3 separate regions of the Homo sapiens genome follow, and all the other regions are linked to region 3. The links are contacts of gene promoters, found by promoter capture Hi-C in blood cells and fetal thymus (Javierre and others, 2016). All regions are on one chromosome and are shown on one strand. Each heading gives the region's core, a stretch centred on a gene start or on the middle of the fragment in contact. The rest is flanking DNA. Distances are from core to core; before and after follow the strand shown. Region 1 has its middle 14 kb from the start of VDR. Region 2 overlaps LOC105369750 (a long non-coding RNA gene). Region 3 holds the start of LALBA (lactalbumin alpha).

Region 1 (3,336 bases), core at 597-3,096, 650 kb after region 3:
AATACTAGACTCTCTCATCTTTCCTGTTTTAAACATTAAATAAATGAAACCATTCTGTATATAGTCCATCACTTACCTCTTTTCTCAGTTTTATGTTTGTGAGACTCACCCATGTGGATGTGAGTTGTTGTAGTTATTTCATTTTCTACTGCTATATAGTATTCCATTTTGGAACATGCCACAATTTATCTATTCATTATTCCATTGACGAATATATTTTTAAGTTTTTTGGCTATTATAAACAATTTTTAAGTGAATGTTTTGTACCTGTCTCTTGGTGCATGTGAACAACAGTTTCTCTGGAGTACATAATTCGGAGTGAAATTGCTGGATTATAAGGTCTGAGCACATTAAACTTCCCTAGGTAGAGATCAGCTGTTCTTTATGGTGGGTCCAACTGACCCACCAGATGAGAGTTACAACTGCCCCACGTCTCTGGTAAAACTTGAGTTGACTGACCTTTCAACTTGGGAGATGTGAAATGATATCTTATTGTGGTTTTAATTTGCATTTCCCTGATTACTAATGAGGACTTTTTCCCCTCATATGTTTACGGATAATTTGTGTTTCCTTTACTGTGAAATGCCTACTCAAATCTTCTGCTCATCTTTCTATGTAATAGTTTACATTTTTATGATTGTCTCATAGCCATCCTTTATATATCTTTGATATTGATCTGTTGTTGGTTAACCATGCGGCAATTATCTTGTTCCACTCTTTGGCTTGTCTTTTCACTATTTTGTTGTCTTTTTTTTTTTTTTTTTTTTTTGAGACGAAGTCTCACTCACTCTGTCACCCAGGCTGGAGTGCAGTGTTGCGGTCACGATCTCAGCTCACTGAAACCTCTGCCTCCCGGTTCAAACGATTCTCCTGCCTCAGCCTTGTGAATATCTGGGATTTACAGGTGCCTGCTACCATGCCAGGCTTATTTTGGTATTTTTAATAAAGATGGGATTTCGCCGTGTTGGCAAGGCTGGTCTCAAACTCCTGACTTCAAGTGATCCACCTGCCCCGGCCTCCCAAACTGTTGGGATTATAGGCGTGAGCCACCGCACCTGGCCATTGTCTTTTTATAGCAGAGATTCTCCACTGTGACATAGTCAAATTGGTTAGTCATTTAGTTTACCCCTTTTCTTTCTCGCTTAAGAAATACCCCTTTTAAAACATTCAATAAATTTTCATTTTAGAGTAGTTTAAGATTTATAGAAAAGTTGAGGCCATGCCTCAACTGCTGGCTCATGCCTGGAATCCCAGCACTTTGGGAAGCCAAAGTAGGTGGACTGTGTGAGCCCAGGAGTTTGAGATCAGCCTGGGCAACATAGAAAGACACTGTTTTTTTTTAAAAAAAAAAAAGTTGCATGAGTATTAAAGAGAGTTCTTATATACACTTCACACCTAGTTTCCCCTGTTATTAACATCTTACATTATGATGGTGCATTTGTGACAACTAATGACCAAATATTGCTATATGATTATTTTCTGAGGTCCCTGGTTTATTTGCATTTCTTTGGCTTTCCTGTTTTAGGATCCCATCCAGGACACCACATTACATTAGCCATCATGTCTCCTTTGGCTCCTCTAGACTATGATGGTTTCTCAAACTTCCCAAGTTTTTGATGATCTTGACAGTTTTGAGGAGGACTGGTCAGGTATTTTTTAGAATGTCCTTCGACTTGGGTTTGTCTGATCTCTTTGTTTCATAGTTACACAGGAAGTATGTGTTTTAGGGAAGAAGACCATAGAGGTAGACTGTCATTTTCATCATATCCTATCAAAGGTATATGCTATTAATATTAACTTATCACCAATAATGTTCACCTTGACCACCTGGCTGAGGTAGTGTTTGCTAGTTCTCCTCACTGTAAAGTTACATTTCTCACCCTTTTCCATACTGTGCTTGTAAAAGGAAATAATAACATGCACACCACACTGAATGAGTAGGGAATGATGCTTCACCTCCTTGAGTGGGTGGTATCTATGTAAGCTATTTGGAATTCTCTTATAGAGGGGATTTATCTAACTAATCTCCCCTACTCATTTACTCATTCAGTCACTAACTGATATTTATTTATTTGTCATGAATATTGATTTATGAAACATGGGTGGCAGAAGCAAGTTTTCACTATTGGAGAGGGAGGTTACAGAAAAGCAAGAAAACAAGGCTAGAATGAACCTTGGAGTTCTGGATGACAGTTAAAAACATTAATATGAACTCATGAACTATGTTGCCCAGGTTGGTCTCGAAATCCTGAGTTCAAGTGATCTTTCCACTTTTGCCTCCCAAAGTGCTGGGATTACAGGTATGAGGCACCAAGCACAACCCTTTAACTTTTTCTTTTTTTCTGAGACAGAGTCTCACGCTGTTGTGCAAGCTGTAGTGCAGTGGCATGATTTTGGCTCACTGCAGCCTCAACCTCCCAAGCTCAAGTTATCCTCCCACCTCAGCTTCCCAAGTAGCTGGGACCACAGGCATGCACCACCACACCTGGCTAATTTTTGTATGTTTTGTAAAGGTGGAGTTTCACCATGTTGCCCAGGTTGGTCTCGAAATCCTGGGCTCAAGTGATCTGCCTGCCTCAGCCTCCCAAAGTGCTAGGTTTATAGGCATGAGCCACTGCACCTGGCCCTAACTTTTTAAATAGGATGCTTAGCACATTAATTTTGAGCTTTAAAAAAAATTAATGTAAACATTCGCAACTATAGCACATGGACTCTAAAGCCTGATTTCCTGAGTCCAATTCCTAGCTCTGCTACTTCTAGCTGTGTGACTTCAGTTAGTTTTTTTGTGTGTGTGCGCTTCAGTTTCCTCATTTGTACTTGCCTCAAGGGTTGTTATGAAAATTAAGGCTGGGTGCGGTGGCTCATGCCAGTGGTCCCAGCACTTTTGGAGGCTTAGGTGGGTGGATCACTTGAGCTCAGAAGCTGAAGACCAGCCTGGGCAACATGGCGAAACTCTGTCCCTACAAAAATACAAAAATTAGCCAGGTATGGTGGCACATGACTGTAGAGGCTGAGGTGGGAAGATTATTTGAGCCTGGAAGGTTGAGGTTGCTATGAGCTATGATCACTGCACTCCAGCCCAGGTAACAGAGCGAGACCCCATTTCAAAACAGAAAACTTAAATGAGTAACACATGTAGAGTACATAAAACAATGTCCACCACATAGTAAATGCTAAGCAAGTATTAGTATTATACACATCCCTCTAAGTACAATTTTAGTTGCATCCATAAATTTCAATATACAGCATTGTTATTATTATGTTCTGAATATTTTCTCTTTTAGTCTATGGTTTATTCTTCAGAAATACATTTAAAATTTCTGGTTGGAAAAGGTT
Region 2 (3,665 bases), core at 834-3,333, 540 kb after region 3:
GTTCTGTTTCAGGGAACCGCAAGCTCAATAAGCTCCACTGTTCTACCAAGCTGGACAAACAGCCACGTCTCTGTTCTCTTGGCCAGACCCTGAGGCCTGGAGTCCTGCCTTCAGGAATTCCAGAATTCTAGAAAGTTAGAGCTAGACAAGACCTCAGCCTTCATCTAGTCTTGCTCCAACCACTGTGCGGATGGGGAAACAAGGCATGGGCTGGGGATGACTTAAGGGGTATAAAATGTTGGGCTTTCTTTTGTCAAGCCCAGCATGTGCCTCCTATAGGCACCAGTGGTCTCTGCAAGTCCTGGCCTGCTGGCCTCGCAGCCACAGAGAGCTCGGACTCTCTCAGGCAGCTCACTTCATTGCTGGAACAATAGCAATGTTCTTCCTAATGCTGGGCAAAAATTGGCCTCCCGCCTTCCTTTAATGCTCACCTGCTTGTGCAGTCTCCAAGGAGAGATAGGTCTGGCCTGCATAGAACAATTGGAAATTAATTCATCCTTAAAGGAAGTGGAGCAGACTGTCCCAGGTCATTCTTGGGCAGCCTCTGCCATTAGATTGGAGAGAAGGCCCAGCACTCTGGGTCTACACAGACTCTGAATATAGAGACCTGGATTCATGTTCTGTTGCCTAAGAGCTATTAATACACGATGGTGAGCATGTTACTAACCTGTTTAAGCCTCAGTTTCCTCTACTGTGAAAACAGAGGTAATAGGAGTTTCCTATGTTGGTTCATTCTCCGTATGGCTCACCCATGATCCTAAGATGGCTACCTAGAGAAATATGGCTAAAGGAATGGGTCATTCCCTCTTGTCTTGCTGGCACCATACAACTTGGAGAACCTGTTCAGATATGCTTCCATAGATCTGCTCAACAGCCCCGGGAGGTAGACAGGGAGGTTTACTATTTATGGTTTACAGATAAGAGAACCAGGCTGGGAAATTCTAAGTGGTTTGTACAAGATCACCCAGCTAAAAAGCAGGAGAACTGGGACTTGAATCCAGGCCTCCTGAATTTGGTGACAGTGCAGACTTGCTCCGTGCCATCAGGCCTGGCTCCTGGGAAGGAACACTTTGAGAAGCCTTAGTGGGGCTTGGTCTCATGCCTCACCCAGGGCCTGGCCATAGTGGGTGCTCGGGGGACCTTTGTCTTTTCTGCCACAGCCTGAGCCAGAGTGGAAGCTGGGCTGTGCAGCAGAGCAGGAACCCAGCAGGTGGCAGGGACAGCCTGGCTGTGCCTGCTTTCTCCCTTGGTGGTGGGGACCACATGCTAAGCTACGTCTGTAAACATGGCCACAGCCTCTTTCTGATCCCTTGAGCTCTGTGTCTCTGCATACACGTCTCTTGGTTTTCTTTCTCCTTTGACTTCACTCTCCTCCCCACTCTCCCCATGCCCCTCCTCTGTCCTGGATTTGATCTTCTGTCTCCTGGCCTCCTTGTCTCTCTCAACATCCAGTGTTTTTTTCTCTTGTTGACTTCCTCTTTCCCTCTCTCTCCCTCAGTTCCTCCTTTGGATCTTCCTGGGTCGAGCAGACAAGTGAGAGGCTTCTGCCGTGCTCAGGGCAAGAGGCTGCTGAGCTGCCCTTCCGTCCCCTCCTCCCTCCCCACACATCCCTCTCCCTTGCCCTGGCCCCTCATCACCTTGGCTGGCTCCTCCTTGATGCATGGGCTGAGGCGAAGGTACAGGGAGGCAGTTAGAGCAGCTTCCCTGGATACAAAAGCTTCTTTCTACCCCTTGGAGATGAGGTTTCCAGGCAGGTTATTTTTATAGCAGGGCTCAGGCAGGATTCTTCAGAGAAAATAAACAAAGTCATACACACCAGTCCTTCACACCCTTCAGCCCCTTCCCTGGAGAGGGGCCCAGCCTAGCTGTGCCGACACAGGGACGCCCACCACCCCAGAGGGGCTGTGGGGGCTGCTGCCGGGATATCAAGAGGCCAGGGGTCTGGGATGGGGGAGGGGGCGCCAAGGAGGGAGACTGACACAGGTCCCCTGCAGCCCCAGTCAGGCCAGGAGGAGATGGCTGGAACCTTGGGGTCCCTGCCTCACCACTGGGGCCAGAGTCTTGGGTCCGGCATCTGTAGGGGAGAGTCAGATTCAAATGCAGGCGTAACCCAAATTTTCTAAATGCTTACCAAGTGCCAGGCACTGTGCTTGCAATTTACAAACACATTTTACTTATTCCTCATCACTGAATTCACTGAATTCAGTAGAAGTCATTTCTACAAGTTGCCACTTAGTATTGGCCTCTATGTGCCTGGCACTCTGTTAGGTGCTAGGGAGACAAGATTAAATGACACATGGAGAGAGAGAGAGCTCAGAGAGCTTTCCAGCTGGTGAGACATTGATTGAATCCCTTACTATGAAGATTTCAAGGTGGATATTTTTATGCTCATTTTGCAGATGAGAAAAGAGACTTAGTGAGGTCAAGTGACTTGTCCAGGGAAGCTTGGACCTTTGATGTCAAGGGCATAAGGGATCAGGGACTCAGAGATCTCTTGGGGCAGGTTTCTTGGGGGTAGAAATGTCAGCTAAGAGGGTGTAGAGGGCAAGAAGCCTGAGATGGGATAGGAGAACAAGGTACAAATCCACGTGCAGTTTTCCTGGGGTCTTGGGCCATTCCAGACCTAGGGTGGAGCACACGTGGTCCCTCATTCTTGAGGGCAGGCAGTCAACAATATCTTGTCTAACAGATCCCAGAAAGGAAGGCCTTTCATAACCAGATTGGCTGCAGTCTTCTCAAAGCTCTTTTATGAGGAAGCCTCAGGTTAAAAAAAACTTCATAAATCATGTGCATTCCCCGTCAGGCATGACAAAAATACATGACCCTTGTGGGTCCCTGCCCAGTGAAGGCAAACAGCTCACTGAGGCAACGCTGGGAGTGCACACAGGCCTGCCACTGTCCTCCACCTCCCTCAGCCGAGCATGTTCCCCAGCTCAGGGCAGCCCCCATCATCCTTGACAGGCCAGGGAATTCCAGATACCAGACAATCATTCTAATGACCCTTCAGGAGTGAGTTTCAGTGTGCTGCCTTAGCCTCCACAGGCATTCGGCCTTTTTTTTTTTTCTTTTGAGGTGGAGTCTCGCTCTGTCACCAGGCTGGAGTGCAGTGGCGCGATCTCGGCTCACCGCAACCTCTGCCTCCCGGGTTCAAGCAATTCTCCTGCCTCAGCCTCCTGAGTACCTGGGACTACAGGCACACGTCACCACGCCCAGCTAATTTTTGTATTTTTAGTAGAGACGGGGTTTCACCATGTTGCCCAGGATGGTCTCCATCTCTTGACCTCATGATCTGCTTGCCTCAGCTTCCCAAAGTGCTGGGATTACAGGCGTGAGCCACCACGCCCGGCCTCATTCAGCCTTTTTATGACTAATTCTGGAATGAAGGAATGTGTCTGTTTCAGAAGTTCCAAGTATCAATAGGTAGAGTTCTAGTGAATTCCCAGAGTCTGGGGAGCCCCAAAATAACATATTCTAGTGTCTACGTTTGCTTGTCTTTAAAAGGGAGCTAATAATACTCACGTCTTGGGGTACGAAGAGTTTGCAGACAGGCAGTGCCGAGCCCAGCATCTAATGCATGGCAAGCACTCCAGCCTCCTCCTGTGCGCCAGGCTCAATCTCCACTCATTCATCAGGCGCGTGCCCAGTGCCTGTGGTGTGCTGAGCGT
Region 3 (3,335 bases), core at 433-2,932:
AATAGATTGGTTGGGATAAATGTTCCCTGAAACATAAGAAACAGCGCAGCGGCTCCTGTCTGTAATCCTAGCACTTTGGGAGGCCGAGGCCCAGGCAGGCAAATTGCCTGAGCTCAGAAGTTTGAGACCAGCCTGGCCAACATGCAGAAACTCCGTCTCTACTAAAAATACATAAATTAACCGGGCATGGTAACACGTGCCTGTAGTCCCAGCTACTCGGGAGGCTGAGGCAGGAGAATCACTTGAGCCTGGGAGGCAGAGGTTGCAGTGAGCCAAGATCGCGCCACTGCATTCCAGCCTGGGCAACAGAGTGAGACTTGGTCAAAAAAAAAAAAAAAAAAGGAAGAAGAAGAAGAAATCAGGTTTAGAGATGAGGACAAAGAAGACGAATGGTGGCATGAAGGAGCTAAGAGCTACTTGTCACCATGACATGAAGCTTCATGCCAGCAAATTAAAGGAGCTATTCAGAACTAGTATCCTCAACTCTACTTGCTCAGGGGCACTGACCTTATAGAGATTCCAGACATAAGCTTGTTCAGCCTTAAAGTCCAATCTTTCCACTGGCTTGGGTCCTTCCCACTTTCTGTGGCCAACTCTGAGGTTGTCTACAAGTTATTGGTCTTAGATTTATGTAATGTCTCAATGCCAGTGTAGTATTTGGTTATTTACGGTAGGAGTGGTTAGGGGTGGGGAATCTGATAATAGCTCGTAGGATAGCTAGATTCTTTTTTTTTTTTTTTTTTTTTAAAGATAGGGTCTCACTTTGTCTCCCAGGATGGATGGAGTGCAGTGGAGTGAACATGGCTCACTGCAGCCTCGACCTCCTGTGCTCAAGTGTTCCTCCTGCCTCAGCCCCTCAAGTAGCTGGGACTACAGGCACATGTCACCATGCCCAGCTAATTTTTTTTGTAGAGATGGGATTTTACCATGTTGCCCAGGCTGGTCTCGAGCTCCTGGGCTCAAGTGATCCACCAGACTCGGCCTCCCAAAATGCCGGGATTACAGGTGTGAGCCACTGTGCCTGGCCTAGATGCTTTCATACAGGCTTTTCAATTATGCATTTTCCTTAAGTAGGAAGTCTTAAGATCCAAGTTATATCGGATTGTTGTAGTCTACGTTCCCATATTCTATTCCTATTTCTGAGCCTTCAGTCATGAGCTACCATATTAAAGAACTAATTCTGGGCCTTGTTACATGGCTGGATTGGTTGGACAAGTGCCAGCTCTGATCCTGGGACTGTGGCATGTGATGACATACACCCCCTCTCCACATTCTGCATGTCTCTAGGGGGGAAGGGGGAAGCTCGGTATAGAACTTTATTGTATTTTCTGATTGCCTCACTTCTTATATTGCCCCCATGCCCTTCTTTGTTCCTCAAGTAACCAGAGACAGTGCTTCCCAGAACCAACCCTACAAGAAACAAAGGGCTAAACAAAGCCAAATGGGAAGCAGGATCATGGTTTGAACTCTTTCTGGCCAGAGAACAATACCTGCTATGGACTAGATACTGGGAGAGGGAAAGGAAAAGTAGGGTGAATTATGGAAGGAAGCTGGCAGGCTCAGCGTTTCTGTCTTGGCATGACCAGTCTCTCTTCATTCTCTTCCTAGATGTAGGGCTTGGTACCAGAGCCCCTGAGGCTTTCTGCATGAATATAAATAAATGAAACTGAGTGATGCTTCCATTTCAGGTTCTTGGGGGTAGCCAAAATGAGGTTCTTTGTCCCTCTGTTCCTGGTGGGCATCCTGTTCCCTGCCATCCTGGCCAAGCAATTCACAAAATGTGAGCTGTCCCAGCTGCTGAAAGACATAGATGGTTATGGAGGCATCGCTTTGCCTGAATGTGAGTTCCCTGCCTCTGTGTTTCATCCATTCCTCATACGCTTCTCTCCTCCATCCCCTCTTTCTTCCACTTCGCCCCTCCACTTTTACTTAATTATCTAATCATCCTCTTTTCTGCTCATTTGCATACTCTTTTATTTCATGTATGTATATATGTATGTATTTATTTATTTTTGAGGTGGAGTTTCGCTCTTGTTGCCCAGACTGGAGTGCAATGGTGTAATCTCGGCTCACTGCAACCTCCGCCTCCTCGGTTCAAGTGATTCTCCTGCCTCAGCCTCCCAAGTAGCTGGAATTACAGGCACCCACCACCATGCCTGGCTAATTTTGTATTTTTTGTAGAGACAGGGTTTCACCATGTTGGCCAGGCTGGTCTCAAACTTCTGACCTCAGGTGATCCGCCCTCCTCAGCCTCCCAAAGTGTTGGGATTACAAGCGTGAGCCATCATGCCTGGCCCCATTTATTTTCCTATCCTTTCTTTCTCTTATTGTCTGATTTTTTTTTGGAATTCTCCATCTCATCAAGAAACTCTGAGCTTTGCCATCTTTGGAGATTGGCTGGAAAGCATTTTTGTCTGAGAATTACAGTTCCTCCTTTATGCAGATCCTGTACATCTCTGTGGTATCTCTTTCTCATCTTTCCCTCAGTGATCTGTACCATGTTTCACACCAGTGGTTATGACACACAAGCCATAGTTGAAAACAATGAAAGCACGGAATATGGACTCTTCCAGATCAGTAATAAGCTTTGGTGCAAGAGCAGCCAGGTCCCTCAGTCAAGGAACATCTGTGACATCTCCTGTGACAGTGAGTAGCCCCTATAACCCTCTTTCTCTGTTTTTCTGAGGCCTGCCCTTGGGATAATCTCCTTTTTAGTGCCAAGCAGACCTCAGGCTTCATTGCCTTGGCTGGGCTCTATAAAAATTGTGGGACTTGAATTGGCAGTACTGAGTAAGAAGCTGTTTGGATTTTTCATGGTCATCAAATCCCCAGACAGTTCCTTGAGGTTCAGTGGTAGACAATCGGAGCTGTCTGAGAGTCTTGGAATCTGATTGTCTGCATTTTCAGGGTAAGTCAGTTGATGAAGCTGATGATTCCTCCAGAGATATCCCAGGGAAATGAAGGAAGTCCCTACCCAGGGTTAGACATTACCACATTGGTCCTTTCATATAGAAAGACAACAGGCACAAGCCTTGAGTTTAGAGAACCCACTGGATCCAGGGGTTAGGGGAACTCAGTGCCTTTCTGGGTAATACTTGTCAGCTGTCTCAATCCTTTCCCTGTAACTCCTGCCAGAGTTCCTGGATGATGACATTACTGATGACATAATGTGTGCCAAGAAGATCCTGGATATTAAAGGAATTGACTACTGGTGAATCCTTATTCTATTTTCTATTTCCCCATCCTCCTTCTCCTTACCCCATTAGCCCAGCACCCCTTTCCTCTTACCCTATCTCTTGGTCATTTAATCTAGAATACAGTGTCTGAAACAAAGC

Evidence for each region. The method cuts DNA at HindIII sites, captures the fragments that hold promoters and counts their contacts. A CHiCAGO score of 5 or more calls a contact.
Region 1: a fragment that was not itself captured here is called in contact with the fragment with the promoter of LALBA in region 3 in 1 of 17 cell types (erythroblasts); the score reaches 5.0 in erythroblasts.
Region 2: a fragment that was not itself captured here is called in contact with the fragment with the promoter of LALBA in region 3 in 5 of 17 cell types (M1 macrophages, erythroblasts, neutrophils and 2 more); the score reaches 8.6 in M1 macrophages.

Annotation. Positions count from the first base shown.
Region 1 is chr12:47,917,015-47,920,350 of GRCh38, reverse strand. No RefSeq gene overlaps it. Among named protein-coding and RNA genes, the nearest start is that of VDR, 14 kb to the right of the region's middle. The HindIII fragment of the contact is 4,158 bases long and covers 1-3,336 here.
Region 2 is chr12:48,027,891-48,031,555 of GRCh38, reverse strand. It overlaps LOC105369750 (a long non-coding RNA gene), which reads right to left. Exons shown (of 4, transcript XR_944904.3): 3 at 1,638-1,785; 4 at 108-467. Among named protein-coding and RNA genes, the nearest start is that of COL2A1, 25 kb to the right of the region's middle. The HindIII fragment of the contact is 727 bases long and covers 1,720-2,446 here.
Region 3 is chr12:48,568,393-48,571,727 of GRCh38, reverse strand. It overlaps LALBA (lactalbumin alpha), which reads left to right and starts at 1,682. Exons shown (of 4, transcript NM_002289.3): 1 at 1,682-1,840; 2 at 2,488-2,646; 3 at 3,136-3,211. The coding sequence starts at 1,708. The HindIII fragment of the contact is 2,055 bases long and covers 533-2,587 here.